Linked DNA regions of Homo sapiens: region 1 is linked to region 2. The links are contacts of gene promoters, found by promoter capture Hi-C in human tissues and cell types (Jung and others, 2019). All regions are on one chromosome and are shown on one strand. The core of a region is centred on a gene start or on the middle of the fragment in contact, and the rest is flanking DNA. Distances in the headings are between cores, read along the strand shown. Region 1 overlaps C2orf76 (chromosome 2 open reading frame 76). Region 2 holds the start of INSIG2 (insulin induced gene 2).

Region 1 (2,700 bases), core at 83-2,582, 1.3 Mb before region 2:
TGGGGCTGGAGAGGTGTGGTAGAGGCTTGGCAACAGCGTGGTGGGTGTGGGGAACTGTGAGCTGTCATTGTAGCTGGAGGGATATGTTAAAAGCAGATTTTGATGTTGACGTATACCACTGAAGAGGCAGCGGGACAAGTTCAGACTCCTCTGGGCGTGTGACCTGCTTCTGGTGCCTCCGAATGCTGTTTGGATTTATTTGGTGTTCCTTGGTACATAGCAGGAGTATAACTAAGTTCCTAGCCTTTCCCTCCTTTCCAGTACTCTGTAAGTTTGGTATTGTTTGCTTTGTTCTGTTGTCTCTTCCTTCTTAAAAACAAATGGAAATAGCTGAGTTTTAAAAATAACTTATTGTTGATGCATACACATATATCAGAAAAGTGAAAATACAAGTATACTGGAAATAGCTTAATTTAAAAACACATGATTGGTAAAACATCAAACAATATTAAAAAGTATATAAAACAAGTAACAGTCTCTTGGATTTCTGCCCCTCAGAGACAGCCACTGTTAATGTTTTGGTAAAGGCTTTTCTGGACATCTCTCCATGCTTATGTTCACATGTAACACACCTACATTACAAACATGCAGTGATACTGTACACAGGCAATTTTCTAATTTTTGTTTTGTTTTGTTTTTTTGAGACCAGGGTCTGGCTTTGTCTCCCAGGCTGGAGTGCAGTGGTGCAATCTTGGCTCTTGGCAACCTCTGCCTCCCAGGCTGAAGCGATCCTCCCACCTCAGCCCCGCAACTACAGGCTTACGCCACCATGCCGGGCTAACTTTTGTATTTTTAGTAGAGATGGGGTTTCACCATGTTGCCCAGGCTGGTCTGTTGAACTCCTGGACTCAAACAACCTGCCCACCTTGGGCTTCCAAAGTGCTGGCATTACAAGTGTGAGCCACGGCACCGAGCCCTTTAACTTCTTTTCTTTTTTTTTTTAAGACAGAGTTCCACTCTTGTCTTCCAGGCTGGAGTACAGTGGCACAATCTTGGCTTACTGCAACCTCTGCCTCCCCGGTTCAAGCGAATCTCCTTCCTCAGCCTCCCGAGTAGCTGGGATTACAGGCGCGCACCACCACGCCTGGCTAATTTTGTACTTTTAGTAGAGACAGGGTTTCACCATGTTGGTCAGGCTGGTCTCTAACTCCTAACCTCAGGTGATCCACCCGCCTTGACCTCCCAAAGTGCTGGGATTACAGGCGTGAGCCACTGTGCCCAGCCTAAGTTGTTTTTTTACTCACTGGTATGTCATGGCCATCTTTCAAAGTTGGTATCCATACATCCATATCACCCTTTAATGGCTGCAGGGTATTTTGTTTTACTGTGTGGCATAATTTACTTAACCATTTCTTTACTGTTGGACATTTAAGTGGATTCTAATTTTGTTAACTGTTAGAAACATTTCAGTGAAAGAAAATCTTTGAATGTACACCTTTGCGCACTTATAGTCTTCTTGCAAAATGTTTTTATTATGAAAAATGTCAAGCATTTACAAATGGAATAGTATATGAGATTTCATACATAACCAACTTCAACAGTTAACAATGGTCTAGTATTTTTTTTTTTTTTTTTTTTTTTTGAGACAGAGCCTTGTCCTGTTTCCCAGGCTGGAGAGTAGTGGTGTGGAGCACAGTACATAGCTCACTGCAGCCTCAAACTTCTGGCTCAAGTGATCTTTCTGCCTCAGCCTCCCAAGTAGCTAGGATTATAGATGTCCATTGCTTGTATCAATGTCAATTTCCTGGCTGTAAAATCGACTATACTCAAGCAAGATGTGGCCAAGTGGGGGAAAGTGGATGAAGGGAAATGGGAGCGCTGTATTATTTCCCAAATCTACATGTGAATCTACAATTATTTCAAGATAAAAAGGTTAATTAGCTGAGGTCATTGCACTCAGCTAATTAAAAAATTATTTTTGGAGAGATGAGGTCTCGATATGTTGCCCAGGCTGGTCTTGAACTCCTGCGCTTAAGTGATCCTCCTGCCTCGGCCTCCTAAGTGCTGGGATTACAGGCGTGGGCCACCATGCTTGGTCTCTACTATTCTTTTTTTAATCTACGCTTCTATAATTGTTTTTCCTCTGCTAGGGTATTTGAAAGCAAATACAGGTCATCATTTCACCTGTATATTCCTCAGTCTTTTAAGATAAGGACTTAAAAACACAACCATAATATCATATAAACAGAATTAACATTAATTCCTAATATCATCTAATATTATACAAATTAGGATCCATACAAAGACTAAATGTTGCATCCGTTGAGATTAGCTCTTTTAAGTCTCTTTTAATATATAGCCTTCCTCTCTTTTCTTTATTTCTCATGCCATTTGTTGAAGAAATCGAGTCATTTTTCCAGTACAATTTTCCACCATCTGAACTTGGCTGATGGCCTCCTTGTGGTGTCATTTAACATGTTCTTCCATACCCTGTCATAGCTGATAAACTGGGAATGAGATCTGGAGGCTCGATTCATTCACTAATGTTGATTATGAAGTTCAGGTGTTGTCAGCCCCAGATGTACCCATGCTGAAGTTCCCCGTCAGTCTTACCTGATGGTTTTAACACCGCTTTATGATCATCACCTACACTCATTTCATTAGAGTTTTCAGAATGATAATTTTTGGAATTTTTTTATTTTGGGATAATTGTAGATTCACATGTAGATGTAGGAAATAATACAGAGATCCCATTTCCCT
Region 2 (2,700 bases), core at 87-2,586:
CATTTTATTCTTTCCTTTTCCGTGTGACCATCTGCAAAAGCAACAGTTGTCAGTTAAACAGAATCAACCTCTTTCCCGAGTGGACATGATTCACAGCTTGGTCACTGTACAGCAGATGTGAACTGAGAACTACGACATAACACAATGACAAAACACAGTACTGAGCACAAAGTACAGGGAAAGAATGAAAGACAGAAAACAGGAAGAGCACACGTCTGATTTTTGTTTTCTTTGGGGCCCCCATTAGTAGCATTCCCTTCATCCATCTTCATTCAGTGGTTCACTATCAGGGCCAAACCCAAAAGTTACAAAACACCATCTAGCTACTGTCTGGCTGCTTTTATTTTTTCTGCACCAGGACGGGAGCACGCATTCCCCTGCAGTCCTCAGCTCCACCGCAATACTGATACCAAACAGTTTCAGTGGCCCAGCTGCCAAGCCTAACCATTCCTTTTTAAAGCATTTCTTCATCAATCCTACAAAACAGCAAGTTCTTCATGGTATATTTTCCTAGAGCATCTAGCTAATATCATACTTTAACAACTTTTTCCAACGTTAACTGGACATGGGTCATTATCACTTAAGTGTTAGCGCCATTGCCCGCGCCCACTCCCATAATCCACACTGCTTTCCTTCTCCATATTGCCAATCCCCACTAAGCAACCCTAAAATCTAGTAATTATCATCAAATCCACTTCTAGGCCCTGGCAAGAATTATTTGGCTTTACCGAAACACCTATTCCATAGGTAACCAATTCCAGTCAAAAATGCCAGAGTATTACTCCTCAACCCAATGCCCTATCTCCTTAGTGGATTATAAACTTACTACGACAACCTGTCTTCTTTGGATCCAATCCCCGCCCAAGTCTGAGTCTTCTCTCCCAGGCTACAAGCCCCCAAGTCCTGGCAGCTCTATGCTTGACAGCTCGCTGACCTCCACCTCATCAGACCATTGGGTCGCCCTTCTCGCCGTCCTCCAGCCTTCTTCCCGCTCAGACACTCATCCACTGTCCGGGGAGCCTCGACCCCTCCTATACCCCCTCCCCGATCCCGCAGTCCCCTTCTGGACCTTGCGGACCCCTCTCAGGTAAGCGGAGCCCCTTGCCCTGCAGGCCCATCAGTGGTCCTGGCTCCCCGCACCTGCCACCAGGGTTCCCAGGCTGCAAAAACACAAGTAGTTCTTCTTCCCAAGGGCCACCCTCCTCCTCAGGCCGCTTTCCTCAGCACCACGTCACCCGCGCTTCGCCGGGAGACCCCCAACTCACCCCCGCCTCCGCCATCTTCTGGGACCAGCCCCCGTACCCCCTACCGCCTCTTCCTCCTCCACTCCCACAACTCCGCCCGAGCTCCACTGCGCCTGTGCGGCCAACGAGGCCGCGCGCAGGCGATCGGGGCAGAAGAGCTTCCGGTTCCTGCTGTCAATAAGACGTGGACCTGCGAGCCGGGGCAAAAGGGCTTCCGGTCTGCGGGAAACTGGAGGCTAGCGGTGGGCGTGGACCGTCGAGGTGACTGGCGGTTGTCGGATCTGCTGTTGTTTGCTGACCAGGCAGCCGTAGGTAATGACGGATGCCCAGACCCTGTGGGCGGAGTAAAGGAATCATGCACTGATACACGCACACTCACCGAGGGGCGCGTCCGTCTGCGTGCCCCTCATCTCGTAGCCGAAAGGAGCGCGTTCCGGGGCAGGCCTCCGGGTACTTCCCGCAGAGGACCGGGCTTTATACTCTTTGCTCCTTTTCCTCCCCTAGTAAGTCATAACTTATTTTGGGAGAAGGGCATAGTTATTTGTCTCTCGTCTCCATGCTACAGCACTTTATGTGCTTTTCATTCAAAATCGTTCCTCGAGGACGACCAAGTAATGTGATTTGGGGGACAGTTTTCATAGGAAGGGCTTTATAAGTTTACACCAACATAAAGAAAACTTAAAAACCTTATAACCGCTTATTTTTCAGAAGTATTATTTTTCATTTAATCTAAAACCATACTTTTAGAACATGAAACCAAGCCAAACAGATCTTTGCAGATTGTGCAAGCGAACTTTTTTTTTTGAATGAAAGTGGTGCCATCAATGCAAAAGCAAGCCCATATAAGTGCCGAAAGGTACTCGTCATAAGGAGGAGTTGCTTCCCTATTCTGAATTTTTATTTATTTTTATTTATTTATTTATTTGAGACGGAGTCTCTCTCTGTCACCCAGGCTGGAGTGCACTGGCATGATCTCGGCTCACTGCAACCTCTGCCTCCCGGGTTCAAGTGATTCTTCTGCCTCAGCCTCCCCAGTAGCTGGGACTACAGGTACATGCCACCATGTCTGCCTACTTTTTGTATTTTTAGTAGAGATGGAGTTTCATCATATTGGCCAGGCTGGTCTCAAACTCCTGACCTCGTGATTCGCCCGCCTCATCCTCCCAAAGTGCTGGGATTACAGGCGTGAGCTGCCCCCTGAATTTGTTTTTTTTAAGCAACTCTTTTTAAAAAGAGAGAAAAAATAATCTCTCTTGAGTGTATTAGTTATTGAGCTATTCCATTTGGAGGTGGCTTAACCCAAAACGTGTATGGATGTGGTAAGATTACAATGGACTTGAATGTTCTAGATGAAATCTGGGCCGAGAGTAATTGCATAATAGTTTTCCAAAGGACTGTCAGATGGTAAACTCCTTTCATTTACTTTGAACTGATAAACGATAAGATGGATTTTTGT

What was found. Contacts are between HindIII fragments. The study calls those that stand out against the background at their distance.
Region 1: a fragment that was not itself captured here is called in contact with the fragment with the promoter of INSIG2 in region 2 in 1 of the 25 tissues and cell types used here (spleen).

The regions. Positions count from the first base shown.
Region 1 is chr2:119,346,929-119,349,628 of GRCh38, reverse strand. All of the region lies in intron 1 of C2orf76 (chromosome 2 open reading frame 76), which reads left to right. Among named protein-coding and RNA genes, the nearest start is that of C2orf76, 19 kb to the left of the region's middle. The HindIII fragment of the contact is 5,326 bases long and covers 1-2,700 here.
Region 2 is chr2:118,087,107-118,089,806 of GRCh38, reverse strand. INSIG2 (insulin induced gene 2) reads right to left here and starts at 1,336. Exons shown (of 6, transcript NM_016133.4): 1 at 1,266-1,336. LOC107985940 (a long non-coding RNA gene) reads left to right here and starts at 1,376. Exons shown (of 3, transcript XR_001739662.3): 1 at 1,376-1,556. RefSeq lists enhancers at 1,382-1,571, 1,582-1,631. The HindIII fragment of the contact is 12,719 bases long and covers 1-2,700 here.